Linked DNA regions of Homo sapiens: region 2 is linked to region 1. Evidence: promoter capture Hi-C in 16 types of primary human blood cells and fetal thymus (Javierre and others, 2016). All regions are on one chromosome and are shown on one strand. The core of a region is centred on a gene start or on the middle of the fragment in contact, and the rest is flanking DNA. Distances in the headings are between cores, read along the strand shown.

Region 1 (7,404 bases), core at 3,539-6,038:
TATTGCCTTCCTGTAATGCAAACATATCCATTGTAAGTCCATGCCTCTGCCAACTTCATGTATGATTTTATCGTGACATTCCCTTTTAAAATTATAGTGCTATATTGATTTCAAGATAGTAAAAGAGAGTTACAAAACAATATTTGTTATAAACAGGGGTGTTGGATCTGGTTGGTTTAGGACTTACTGATCTACAAGCAATAAAACCTGCAGGAAAACAGTAGATCTGTAGCTCTCAGACAAGCCTTGCAAAGGTCTAGCATGCCCTAGAGAGGGCAAGGGGCACGTTGGAAGGACTAATCAACTTGTTAGGATCAGGTCCTGATGGGGATCGAAACCAGCTTCCAGCAACAATGTGAGAGGGCTAGGCTGGGCTTAGTCAATCACACGGCTCAGATTGGAATCTTATTTGAGTACACCCTGGATGTATGCGGAGGGTGTTAGACCAATAATTCTTGGCCGGGCGCGGTGGCTCACACCTGTAATCCCAGCACTTTGGGAGGCTAAGGTGGGAGAATCACTGGAGCCCAGGAGCAGCCTAGGCAACATAGTGAGGCATTGTCTTTATAAATTAATAATAATAATAATAGTAATAATTATTGAGTGCTTATGGTGGATCAGGCCTCATATGTGATGGGCACACACATACATCTCTTACAATTGCCACAGCAGTCTTAGGGTAGTTGTTAATTCTTGCTTTACAAAGGAGGAAGCCCAGGCTTGGACAGTTACAACAACTTGCTGGAGGCCACACAATGATTCCTGGGTAGAAAGCTGTCTCCCTGCCTTCAAAGCTATTTTGAGGCCACACAATGATTCCTGGGTAGAGACCTGTCTCCCTGCCTTCAAAGCTATTTTGTCAAAGGAAGTTTATATTTATTCAGTGTTTGAGAAACAGCTGCTCTCAGTTTTTAATGTTTTGCTAGGAGTGACTGTGCAGCCTGGATAGCAACAATGGTGGGTGTATTAGTCCGTTTCACACTGCTATTAAGAACTTCCCTGAGACTGGGGCATTTATAAAGGAAAGAGGTTTAACTGACTCACAGTTCCACACGGCTTGGGGAGGGCTCAGAAGACTTACAATCATGGCGGATGGTGAAGGGGAAGTAAGCCCCTTCTTCACAAGGCAGCAGCAGAGAGAAGAACGAAGGAAGAACTTCCAGACACTCATAAAACCATCAAATCTCATGAGAATCACTCAGTGCCATGAGAACAGCATGGGGGAAACCACCCCCATGATCCAATCACCCTCCCTCCCTCGACACATGGGAATTATGATTTGAGATGAGATTTGGGTGGGGACACAGAGTCAAACCCTATCAGTGGGCTTCTTTACGAAAGATGAGGTTTCCTTGGGAAATAACTCTTGGCTCTCTGAGGGCTTGGCCACTCTGACTTTGATCAAACTGGCAACTGGGGTATGTACCTGAGTGAGGTCAGGGGGCCCATGATAACTCGGTGACTTGCTGCCCCTTGCTCACTCCAGTTGGCAATGTCGGGGCATTTGGTCCCTGCTGTGGGGGCTCCCATGTCTGTCTGGCCCTTGGCCTCTCCTCCCCTGGTGGCCAGCTCTGCTGTGATCAGCTGAGCCTGCTGCTGGAGCTATGTGCTGGTTTCCTGCCTCTTCTTGGGCATTCTGGGCTCTAGGAACTGTTTGTTGGTTTCCTGTGGGCCATTCCTTTCCAGGATGGGCCTAGAGGCTGCAACCCTCCTAAGATCTGCCCACACCCCTGTCCTGAGGTGAGCTTCTCAAGAAGGTCCCCGGCTGAGCAAGGGGTGTCAGGAGCAAGAATGGAGGCAGGAGAGTGTGTGCGCCTGCTTTTTAGAGTGGGAGTGTGCACTCATGCATGAGTGGGAGGCTGTCATTAACTTGGCCATGGATGGCTGCCATTTTAAGCAGAACCAGATTTGCTGGCATGAATTGTTTAAATGATGGCAGGCACAAGCACTGCAGGGAGATCCTCCTAGCCTAAATTAAAGAAGCCACAGAGGGAAAAAATCCCAGACCATCTTGCTCCACACCTCCCTCCCCCGTCCCAAGCCTTCCGTCATCTGCGGGAATTTCAGTGCCTCACTGACACCTGAATGACAATCTTTTGTCATCCTGGAAGGCACCATGATGGTACCAAAGGACAACTGGGGAGCATTGGTTCCCTCCCCAGCCCCAAACAAACACGTTCTTCATCAGCCTCCTTAAGCCATCCCAAACAACCCACACGCTTAATACAACTATCGTGCCTTCTATCCGGGCAAAGTGCCATGTGTCTGTAGACACAGCTACTCAGGAGGCTGAGACAGGAGGATCGCTCGAGCCCAGGAGTTTGAGGCTGTAGTGAGCTATGATAATGGCTGTAAATAGCCACTACACTCCAGCCTGGGCAACATTATTGAGACCATGTTTCTAAATAAGCAAACAAAAATTGTGCTTTCTCTGCAAACAGAGTGTCTAGGGAAGTGCTTTTTACTTTCTTGTGCATTAAGATCATCTGGGGACCTTGTTAAGCTGTAGATTCTGATTCAGGAGGTCTGGAGTGGGGCCCCAAGAACCTGTATTTATAACAAGCTCTCAGGTAAAGCCAATGCTGCTCTCAGGGAAACCACACTTTCAGAATGGAAGTTCCAGATAGCCCTCCTCTGCCTCTGACCAGCCAGCTATGTGCCTGCTAACGTCATTCTGCTGTCAGAGGGAGTGTGGGGTAGGAGAGCAGGGTGGTCTGAAGTCTTTCTCTCTCTCTTTCTCTCTCTCTCTCTCTCTCACACACACACACACACACACACACACACACACACACACACACACAGGGCTTCATCGGCTCAGAGAGTTGCAAACCCAGACCCATGTTCTAGGCTGGGCTCTGCCAGGAACTGCTAGGAGTCGCATCTCTCTCTGGACCTCAGTTTCTTCACGTGTATTTGTGTATTCTCTGGGGTGGAGCTGGCGAATAGCTGGAGACCCCTCTAGCCCTACCATTTTTTGATTCTAATTAACCAAAAAGGATATTCGAGGTCCCCGCTACAAATTCTGAACCCTTGGCTTCCCCTCCAAACTCCCACACAAACTCCACCCCATCCTGCCTGTGTGTCTTTGGGAGGATCATTTCCTTCTTTGGTCTTGGTGTCCTTGTTTACAGGTTGAGGGATGATAAGAGTCACCTGATCTGGGCAAGTCAGGCCATAAATAAGGCTTGTATGTAAAGGTGCCTAGCATAGTTCTTGGCAAAGCAAGGATCAGTCGATATGATTGCATTGGTTTGAGCATCTGGGAAGAATGAGCAGACTGCATACTGTGTGTTAGGGTGTAGGGAGGAATCAGACGTGACCCTGCCCTCTAGTCATCTGGGTGCACAGATTCTAGATTAAAGGATGTGGGGGTGGTAACTAACAAGGAGATGGAGAGGAGGTGTGCAGTTCCTGGGGGATCTGATGAAGAATTAAAGCAGAAGGGTAGGAGATGGAGAATGGGAAGGCATACCTGAAACCCTAAAGCAACTCTTGATGAGTAGGCATTGGCAGGAGGCCCCAGAACATTTTCTGACCCTCAAACACTGAGAATGCATGTCTGCTGGGGAATAGTAGTGAGGGGGCTAAGGGTATGGGGGTGTTCATGCCTGAGTCAGGGGCTCTGGATGGTAGAAATGTCTGGGAGTTCTGACGGAATGGGGGTGAGGAGGCCTAAAGATAACCTGTTCATAGTCTTTCAGGGCCTTAACCATTATGGCTGGGGAAGTGGGAAGTGCCGATGGGGTATGCAGAGGAGGGCAGCTGTGATAGTACATTTCATCCTGAAAGCACTACATGTGGATAATGACGGTAGTGATGATGCCCTAATTTTAGTGTCATGGCAACATTTTCCAAGGGGATGGAATTGGGTACCCTCATTAGTGTCATTTTTGTTTGAGAGATTTCAAGAGTCTATCTAGGTGTCATTTTAAAATCTATTGAAAAAAAATCTTGAATGCAGGTCACTGACCAGTTGGTTCCATGTAACTGCACTGCCTTCTGCTACCACTAAAGCAATGTTATGACAACCTGGACAAGTCATGGGAAACCTATGTGAGACTTAGTTTTTTCTTTTTCTTTTTGGAGTTGGGGGTCTCACTATGTTGCTCAGGCTGATCTAGAGCTCCTGGGCTCAGACAACCCTCCCGCCTCAGCATCCCCAAGTGCCGGGATTACCGATGTAAGCCACTACACCCAGCTGAGACTTAGTTTTTTCATCTGGAAATGAAGGCGACCTTTGTGATCCCAGTGGGCCCTTGCACTTGTGTATAAGGTGATTCCCAGCACTGCTCATGAAAGTAGTGATGGCAGAGTAGCCTCTGCTCTCCATTTTATTTTTGGGGTGGGGGGGGGCAGTGGTGGAGGGGAGGATGAGGATGATATTTCCATTAAATAAGTTTCCTTGTTGCTTTTCTTCAGGCACCACTGACCTCGATGGAAAAATGAAGTCCCTGGCCCAGGAAAGAGACCCAACTCTGTGGCTGTTTTGGATTAGTTTGTACAATGCCCTGCAGACCTACTCTCTCAGGAGGCTCCAAGTGACCAAATGTGACAAGAAAGTTTTTTGTCCAAGGCAGTTTGGAAGAGAAGTTGGTGACCGTCGGGATACCACAGCCGCCCCAGGACGGCCTGGTTGAGACATTCACTGGAGGGTCTGGGTGCAGCCCGCTGCCTGGCCGGTAGGCGGCGCGCACAGGCCGTGGGGCCCGGGTCTGGGCGTGCGCGCGGCTGGTAGCAGCGGGGCCGCGCACGCCAGGGTCCGGGAGCCGGGCCGGTGCCCCCGGAGCCATTTCCGGGAGGGGCGAGGCCGGCGGCTGCCGGGCCTCCAATCTCGGCGGCGGCGGCGGCAACAGGGGAGCCTGGGTCTCGCGGCCTGCGAGTCCGTCGCGTGCTGAGGGAGACGCAGGAGGTGGAGCCGGCCGGGTGCTCGAGGGAAGGAGACTGGAAGCTGGTTCCGGCGTGAGGAGGTGGAGGGGCCGCCGCGGGCTCCGGGGGGCGGTGAGGGTCGGGACGGAGGCGCCGCGGGGTGAGGAGAGGACAGGGGCCGGGTGGGCCGAGGGCGGGCAGAGGCGGCGGGGCGGCTGCGGCCGGGGCGGGGGCGGGGGCGGGCTGAAGGCGTGGGCACCAGCCGCTGAGGTCCAAGCAAGTGGACGGCGGGCGGGCGCGGGGCCGCGGTGGGGCGGGTCTGGAGCCCACGCCTGCCGCGGGGTAGGCATGGGCGGCCAGGATTTGCTGGTCCTCCGACGGGAGGGGTGACAACGAGAGCGAGGCCGTGCTGATTCTGAAGGGAGTGCGGAGGAGGCAGGACCCTGGTAGCCTCGGCACCTTCAGCCCGGGTTAGGTGGCCTGGGCTGGGCTCCCCACCCCGATCGCGCGCAGACGGGGCGTTTCCCCTAGTTTCCACCTGGGTGGAATGCTTTGTGGGAGTCTGGGTCTGGATTAGTTTCATCAGCTGTGGGAGGGAAACCTAGTTGCAGCAGGATTTTGATTCGCTGGTCTGGGGTGCTAGGGGTGGACTGTGATATCTGGGAATGAAATCTGAGCCTTCAAAGGAGGGAGAGAACCATAACTTGGCTGCTCTGGCGAATCTAGGCGGGCTGGCGAGACAGTTTAAAGCTCTAGAAGTAAACAAACCTGGTTCCCTTTTACAGAGTCTGAAAAAGGGGAGCGCGGAGAGGAGGCTGGAAGAGGAAGATGCCTAGCACAGACCTTCTGATGTTGGTGAGCCTTTTGCAGACATCCTCCTGGTTCCAAGGCATTTGTCTCCGTTTTTTTAGTCCAAAGGATCCCAGTGTGTAGATTTCACCTCTGATGCTTGCTTTTGGTAGCTGAGCGTTTTGCCACCTTTTATTTTGTTTTGTTTTGTTTTGTTTTTTTGGAGACGGAGTCTCACTCTGTTGCCCAGACTGGGGTGCAGTGGCATGATCTCGGCTCACCGCCACCTCTGCCTCCTGGGTTCAAGCGATTCTCCTGCCTCAGCCTCCTGAGTAGCTGGGATTACAGGCGCACGCCACCACGCCCGGCTAATTTTTGTATTTTTAGTAGAGACGGGGTTCTCCATGTTGGCCAGGCTGGCCTTGAACTCCTGACCTGTGGTGATCCACCCGCCTTGGCCTCCCGAAGTGCTGGGATTCCAGGCGTGAGCCACCGCGCCTGGCCAACCACCTTTTATTTTGGATGAATGATCAGGATGAATAAATAGCTGAATTAAATACATCAATACAGTATATGTAGAACTTAAATTATTGAAGAATCTTTTTCAAAATTATTATTATTTTTTTTAAATGAGACAAGGTCTTGCTATGTTCCTCAGACCGGAGTGCAGTGGCTATTTACAGGCATAATCATAGCTCACTGTAGCCTGGAACTCCCACTTCAAGTGATCCTCTTGCTTCAGCCTCTGGAGTAGCTAGGACTAGGAGCACAGGTCACCTCTCCTGGCTTTCTTTTTCATAATTCTTGCAGTTTTAATCCCTCCCTTCCCGTACTACCAGAGCAGTTTTGAAACCTCTATTATTACGTTTTATCAGGGTCTGCCATATACTAGTTTATCTGAGTGTTTGTCTTCCAGATTAGAGTTATGGTTCCTCGACAGGCAGATAATCATGTCTTCTTTGTTTAGAGATGAATAAACACCTAGCATGGTGCTCTGAATATAGTATGTGCTTAACAAATGCTTGTTGGATTGAACCAGTATGAATTTAAGTTCTTTTGTTGGACAGAGAGGTATGCCTGCTTTAGAGCTGTTTCCTCTCCTCCTGAGATCTTTCTGTGCTGTTTTACTGAGCAGGGAAGAATAGCGTTGCTAAATGCATGTTTACCAAAATGACATTTTATTTTTGGGACTTTTATGATTCCTTATGGACTTCTTAGTGTGAGAATTATGGAGAGTTTATAGCTTTGAAATGGTGGTATAGAAAAAGTGTCCGGGTTTAGTTTTTTTTGTTTCGTTTTGTTTTGTTTTGTTTGTTTGTTTTTGAGATGGAGTTTAGCTCTTGTCTCCCAGGCTGGAGTGCAATGGCACAATCTCAGCTCATTGCAACCTTTGCCTCCCGGGTTCAAGCGATTCTCCTGCCTCAGCCTCCCGGGTAGCTGGGATTATAGGTGCACACCACCATGCCTGGGTAATTTTTGTTTTTTAATAGAGATGGGGTTTCGCCGTGTTAGCCAGGCTGGTCTCAAACTCCTAACCTCAGGTGATCCACCTGCCTTGGTCTCCCAAAGTGCTGGGATTACTTACAGGCGTGAGCCGCCGTGTCCAGCCAAGTTTGTTTGTTTGTTTGTTTTTGTCACTTCTCTGAGTGCAAAATCAGTGCTTTAAAAACAATTCATTTCTCTCTCTTTATCTCACTATCCCAGAGGGTGGGTTGGCGTCACTGGGAAACTGGCAAAAACTGGTAGTGA
Region 2 (7,404 bases), core at 3,637-6,136, 190 kb before region 1:
ATGCACCAGGTGCTAGTAATCATAGAGAGGGCTACAAAGACACATAAAATAGAGTTCCATCCTTAAAGGAGCCTACCATCCAAATATACATTTTGGCATCATAACTGAACTTATAGTTCTGGGAGCCAGAGTGCCTGGTCAAAATTCTGGCTCTACTGCTTTCTACTAACAACAATTAACCTTGTATCCGAGTATTTATCTCTTTAAGCTGCAGTGTCTTCATCTGTAAAATAAGACCAACAAAGGTACCCATCCATCTATGCCTCTAACTCAGAGCACTGCTTTGAAGATGAAATGAGGTAATAATGTGTTTAAAGAGCTTGACGCAGAGTAAAAGATCAAAATAAAACTGAAGTCATTGGCATAAAACCTTAAAGGTGGTTTGAGATGTGTGGCTTAGCAATGAAGAGCTACCGTGGTTCGGAGGGGAGCAGTGGGTTTGGGTCTCTATGTTACCAGAACAAGATGCATGCGAAGGACTGGCAGGTAGCAAAGACTGTGCAGAGGTTTTCAGGGAGGAGAACAACAGGGGCAAAAGCATGGAGACAAAAAAGAGCGACTCACATGAAGGAAACAGCATGTGTTTCTGGGTTGGACTAGGATGTAGGGATAAATGAGTGGGTATTAATCATTATAACTGTAAGCATCCCATGTTTAACATGCACTCTCTGCCAGACACCTTGTGAATTTATAATTATCATGTAAATTAATCCTCCCAACAACCCATGAAATCGCCTCATAAAATCTTGAAACTTGCCAGCTAAATATCCTTCTAGGACAAAGTCTCACACAGAGGCAAAATGGCTGGGACTAGACTCTAAACTGAGCAAGACAGGGAGCCATGTACAGATAAGGTCCAGACAAAACTGGAGGAAGGCGACAGAGGAAGTCATTCCCAGAATCTTCAACCCATTTTAAAGACATTTTTCAGTACAACAGAAGAGGGAGCCCTAGAGTCACGAATCTAGGCCAAGAAATCTTTTCCCATTCTCCCCATTGAGGACTGCCCGAAAAACTATCTCACTTAAACATACGTAATGCAAAAGGATTGCAGAGGAGAAATCCAGTCCCATTCAGTTTTTGTTTTGTTTTGTTTTGTTTTGTTTTTAAAGAAAAAAGTTGATTAGCATAGTAACAGATCATCAGGCAATGATCTCTGGAAAGACATGCCCTACAAAATACATAAAATTTTTCATTTGATATTTTTAAATGAAGTAGAAGAGTTTTTAAAATGACAGAATTTAGGAAACTAAAGCATAAGTCAGGATTATAAAAATTAAGAGATGAGATAATTGGATACAAGGAAAATTTGAAAAGAGCTCACACAGAATTTAGTTAGGAAAAAACCATTTTTCTTTTCTAAAAAAAACCTCTAACCATTTTAGAAATAAAAAGAAGCTAGAATGAATAAATAACATAAATAATGTCATAAGAGAAATAGAAGATGAAACAGAGGAAATTAAAAAAATCAAAAGTGGAGACTGGTTTAAAAAAAGATATAAAGGTGATAGATATGGAAGATAGAGAAGATCCAACCCATGTATAAAAGAGACCTTAAAGAAGAAAACTGAAGTAATGAAACAGAATAAATACATACTGTAGTGAAATATGTTAACATACCTCTCTTTTTAACTGATAAAACAGGTGGACAATAAAATCAGTAAAGATACAAAAAAATTGAACAATGCAATGATAAGCTTGACCCAACTGACATATATAGGACACTGTACCCATACACCAAAGTGTTGATGAAAAGGCTAAACTTTGTAAAATATTTAAAGAGGCTTATTCAGAGCCAATATGAGTGACCATGGCCCAGGATACGTTCTCAAGAGGTCCTAAGAAAGTGTGCCCAAGGTGGTTGGGCTACAGTTTGGTTTTATACATTTTAGGGAACAAGAGTTGCAAGGAAAGACATAAGTCAATACATGGAAGGTGTACATTGGTTCAGCCTAAAGAGGTGGGATGTCTTATGGGGAGGGGACTGCTTCCAGGTCATATAGGTAGATTCAAAGATTTTCTGATTGGCAATTGGTTGAAAGAGTTAAGCTTTGTCTAAAGGCTTAAGAAGTCAGTAGAAAGGAATCCTTGAGCTAAGACAAGGGGGTTGTGGAAGCCAAGGCCCTTGTTACGTAGATGAAGTCTCATAGGTGGCAGCCCGCAGACAGCATGTGATGCCATACCAGAGTTAGGTTGGAATTTTGTGTTTTATTACTACAAAGAGTCTGTTTTGTCGGTCTTATGATCTCTCTTTTAATATTAATGCTGGCCAGTTGTGCCTAAACTCCAAAAGGGAGGGGGCATAATGAGGCCTCTCCAACTTCCCTTCCCATCATGATTTGGAATTCATTTTTTCAGGTTTTCCTTGGCCCAGAGGGAGTCCATTCAATCAGTTGGGTAGCTTAGGATTTTGTTTTTGGTTTACAAAAGAAATATGTCTTTTTTTCAAGTGCGTACTGAACATTTACCTAAATTGGCAATTTACTGGGCCATAAAATATCTCAAAACATTTCAATGGATTAAAAATTTACAGAGAATGTTACTCAGTGGATTAAGCAAGAAATCAATAACAAGAACAAAAAAACAAACAAACAAAAAATCAAAATGTTTGAAAATATACAAGGGTTAAATTACATTTAGCCTAAAGCTGCCTCCTTACATAGTTCAAGTTTGGCCTAAAGGTTTCTCAGTAAGTAATGAACTGTAACCTAACTGGATGTGTAAACAGACTATAACCTACTCTTTTATTTTATTTTATTTTTTTGACAGAGAGTCTCACTGTGTCACCTAGGCTGGAGTGCAATGGCACAATCTTGGCTCACTGCAACCTCCACCTCCCAGGTTCAAGTGATTCTTGTGCCTCGGCCTCGCAAGTAGCTGGGATTAGGTGCGCACCACCATGCCCAGCTAATTTTTGTATTTTTAGTAGACATGGGGTTTCACCATGTTGTCCAGGCTGGTCTTGAACTCCTGACCTCAGGTGATCCACCCGCCTTGGCCTCCCAAAGTGCTAGGATTATAGGTGTGGGCGACCATGCCAGGCCTTGTAACCTACTCTTGTAACAAGTAGGTCTTAGCCAATCACAGCAGTCATATTTCAACCACTTACAGGCAGCCAATGGTTCAAACCATGCTCAGATAAGGCAAACGCTTAGTTGCCTTTTGGATTGGCTGCCAAGCAACTAATCTGGCTGTTCCTGCGTCTCACTTCTGTTTTCTGTATTTCACTTTCCCTTTTCTGTCCATAAATCCTTTCCAACCACCAGAGTCACTTTGAACCTCTTCTGGTTCTAGGGACTGCCCAATTTGTGAAATGTTCTTTGCTCAATTAAACTCTGTTAAATTTAATTTGTCTAAAACTTTTCTTCTAACACCAATATCCTTCAAAATAAGTTCCAAATCAAAGAATAAGTCAGAAAATACTTTTAACTGAATGATAAAAATATGATACACTAAAATACATGGGATGCAACTAATATTATGTTTAGAGGGAAGTTTATGGTCATAAATGCACATTTCAGAAAAGGAGAAAGATTTAATATTGTAAAAAAACAAAATATGTTACTCTAAAATATGGTTTTAGCAGATCAGAATATGCCACTCCAAAATATGCCTCTGGCATAAGAATGATTTTGAGCTGATTATTATTATTTATTTATTTTTGAGACAGAGTCTCACTCTGTTGCCCATGCTGGAGTGCAGTGGTGCGATCTCCGCTCACTGCAAGCTCCGCCTCCCAGGTTCACATCATTCTCCTGCCTCAGCCTCCTGAGTAGCTGGGACTACAGGCACCTGCCACCATGGCTGGCTAATTTTTTTTTTTTTTTTGTATTTTTAGTAGAGACGGGGTTTCACCATATTAGCCAGGATGGCCTCGATCTCCTGACCTCGTGATCTGCTTGTCTCAGCCTCCCAAAGTGCTGGGATTACAAATGTGAATCACTACGCCTGGCCGAGCTGAGTATTTTTGATGGCAGTGGCTGCTGCCATCATGCTGGCTGCAGCAGGGAGGCACGGCTTTGGCTGCACACTCCATAAAGCTGGTGGGAGTTGGGAGGAGAGCTCTCTGGGTGCTGCTGCAACTGCCCAACCAGCAGCTTCAGACCCAGGCCTCCTGCTCTACAGAGCACACAGGAGACTCACCCTCCTGGGTGGGGCTACAGCCGTCCAAATTGCAGCTGTGCTCTTTGAGGAGGTCTGGGAGCAGGCAGGATCTGCCCTCCTGGGTGTGGCTGTGACCGCCCTCCCAGGTGCAGGAGCTGGTGTCTCTGCAGCCTGCACCCTCAGTGGCCTTAGGAAGGACACTCCTCCATCCCTCCAAGCTCAGAGGTGTCTTTTCCCACTGCCTGGCTTCTCTTCACTCATGGTGCCTCCTCTGATCTTGGAGGGGGTGTTGGGGCCAAGCCCAGGGGCCATGAATGGCAGTGGGAGGCAAATTGATTTTTGGGTGGAAGGAGGCAGGTCCCCAGTAAGGCCACACCTTCAGGCCAGGGAAGGTCTGAAGGCTGGGGACCGGGCTGCCAGTCCTGCAGATTGGCAGACTGGTGGGGGGACTTGTGGTGCCTCTTCTGGGCCTCCCATGGCCACCCAGGGACCAACTGGCATGTACTTCCTTCCCTCCAAGGCCCATAAAAGCCCAGGGCTCAGCCAGAGTGGGGCACAGGACGAAGAGGGCGGAGATGATGGGAGGACCACCTGCAAAGAGGAGTACTTTCTCTGCTGATAGCTGCAGAGACCTGCAGAAATGTCCAAATGACCTGCCTGCAGAGAGGAGTTATCCTCTCCAGGGCCTCCTTTTTGTGGAGAGCTGAACACTGGATGGGATGACCTGCCTACAGAGAGGAGCTACCCATTCCTCTAAGCTGTTCTAACACTAAATAAAACTCTTCTTCACCCTTCACTTGTCTGCATACCTCATTCTTTTGGATACAGGACAAGAACTTGGGCAATAGTGCTGTGGCCACAGAGGTTTCTGGCCAGAAAAGTCAACACCCTAGAGATCCCTTAAAATTTTGAGAAACTGCAGACATAGGAGAAGCTCTGAAAACACAGTAAAAATTACCCTTTTATAAGGGAAATTAAAAGCCATAAAGGAAATCTCCATTTGTAAAGATGTTTCCTGCTCAGTACCAGAAAGAGAAGAATGATGTTAAATCACTGGAAACTCTTATCAGTGGAGAAGGTATCAACTTAAATCTGCCTAACAAACCTTATCCTATTTTCTTTTCTTTTCTTTTTTTTTTTTTTTTTTTTTTGAGATAGGGTCTCACTTTGTTTACCTAAGCTGGAGTGCAGTGGCATGATCTAGGCTCACTGCAACTTCCACCCACTGGGTTCAAGCAAGTCTCCTGCCTCAGCTGGGATTACAGGCATGTACCACCATGCCCAGCTAATTTTTGTAATTTTAGTAGAGATGGGGTTTCACCATGTTGCCCAGGCTGGTCTCAAACTCCTGGCCTCAAGTGATCCGCCTGCCTTGGCCTCCCAAATTGCTGGGATTACAGGCATGAGCCACTGCACCCGGCTTGAGATTTTCTTGGGCATCTCCCCACAGCTGGCCTTCTTCACACCCTTGTATTTTTGTTTTAGCTGAAGATTATATCTAAGCCTGAACTCAGAGCCATCTCTTTGAGATTTACTCATTTACTCTAGGTATCTTATGTATGTTTGACCATAAACAAGTCTGTTGCAGTATACATGGTAAGTCAATACATCAACACTGAGAGTTGCATCAGAGAAAAAGTTTTAATCATAGGGCTGCCCAGCAAGGAGGCAAGAGGAAACTTCAAATCTGCCTCCCAGAGGAGTTGGGGGTTAGAGATTTTAAGGAGTTTGGAGTGGCCAAGGTGTGGAGATTGTTGATTGGTCAAAGAGTGCAGCGTGAAATCCTGGGATGGGGAGATGAAGAAACTGCATTCTCATGTTGATTCAGCTCCTCTGTGGGAGTCTTCAAGCTGATGGGCATCAGCTGTTCAGCTGGAATTCAGGATCTGAAAACATCTTAAGTAATTCTTTTTTTTTTTTTTTTTTTTTTTTGAGACGGAGTCTCACTTTGTCACCCAGGCTGGAGCGCAGTGATGTGATCTCGGCTCACTGCAAGCTCCGCCTCCCGGGTTCACGCCATTCTCCTGCCTCAGCCTCCCGAGTAGCTGGGAACTACAGGTGCCTGCCAACACGCCCGGCTAATTTTTTGTATTTTTAGTAGAGACGGGGTTTCACTGTGTTCACCAGGCTGGTCTCCATCTCCTGACCTCGTGATCTGCCCGCCTCGGCCTCCCAAAGTGCTGGGATTACAGGCATGAGCCACCGCGCCCGGCCATCTTAAGTAATTCTTAAACAAAAGCCTTAGGTGTCAGAGATCCTATCTGTAGGAACAGTGGGAATGCAGATGGTGGGGATCTAGTGCTACGTGACTTTAAATTAAAAGAAGTGCCGGGCTCAGTGGCTCGTGTAATCCCAGCACTTTGGGAGGCCGAGGCGGGCGGATCACATAAGGTCGGGAGTTCGAGACCAGCCTGACCAACATGGAGAAACCCCGTCTCTACTAAAAATACAAAATTAGCTGGGCGTGGTGGCACATGCCTGTAATCCCAGCTACTGGGGAGGCTGAGGCAGGAGAATCGCTTGAACCTGGGAGGCGGAGGTTGCAGTGAGCCGAGATCGCGCCATTGCACTCCAGCCTGGGCAACAGGAGTGAAACTCTGTCTCAAAAAAAAAAAAAAATAGATAAAAATAAAAAAAAAGATAAATTACAAAGAAGTGGGCCAAAGTGCAGCCTGCTTAGTGCTCCTAATGCTTAATAATGAGTATATTTCTGCCCAGAACACTGCATGTATTTCTTGTTAACCCTGAAAGGATGGTTTTATATGCATAAAGTATATGTGTTATTAAACTTCTGTTTGTTATTCTCTTGTCACTCTTTTGTTCCAGGGATCTGTCCTAACTAAGAACTATGAAGGTGTAAACCAAAATAAAATCCTAAAAGCTGGGCATGGTGGCTTATGCCTGTAATCCTAGCCTTTTGGAAGGCCAAGATGGGTGGATCACCTGAGCTCAGGAGTTTAAGACCAGCCTGGGCAACATGAAACCCTGTCTCTACCAAAAACAAAAACAAAAACAAAAACAAAAAACAACTGGGCATGATGGCATGTGTCTGTAGTCCCAGCTACTTGTGGGGCTGAGGTGGGAGGATCGCTTGAGCGCAGGAGGTGGAGGCTGCAGTAAGCCGAGATCGCACCATTACACTCCAGCCTGGGTGACAGAGTGAGACTCTGTCTCAAAGAAAAAAAATCCTAAGTCCCCCAGTAGACTGAATGAACCCTTTTGGCCAAGGGGATCCTAGGGAAACCTGAAAAACTCAACTCTAGGCCATGACAGTAAGGGAGGTCAGACACACCTTTTTAT

Evidence for each region. Contacts are between HindIII fragments. The CHiCAGO score rates a contact against its expected background, and 5 or more counts as called.
Region 2: a fragment that was not itself captured here is called in contact with the fragment with the promoter of SGPL1 in region 1 in 1 of 17 cell types (M2 macrophages); the score reaches 5.6 in M2 macrophages.

The regions. Positions count from the first base shown.
Region 1 is chr10:70,811,160-70,818,563 of GRCh38, forward strand. It overlaps SGPL1 (sphingosine-1-phosphate lyase 1), which reads left to right and starts at 4,789. Exons shown (of 15, transcript NM_003901.4): 1 at 4,789-4,967; 2 at 5,652-5,721. The coding sequence starts at 5,695. RefSeq lists silencers at 4,585-4,904, 4,925-5,014, 5,095-5,204. The HindIII fragment of the contact is 12,143 bases long and covers 1-7,404 here.
Region 2 is chr10:70,618,534-70,625,937 of GRCh38, forward strand. No RefSeq gene overlaps it. Among named protein-coding and RNA genes, the nearest start is that of PRF1, 19 kb to the left of the region's middle. RefSeq lists an enhancer at 6,754-7,343. The HindIII fragment of the contact is 5,679 bases long and covers 2,048-7,404 here.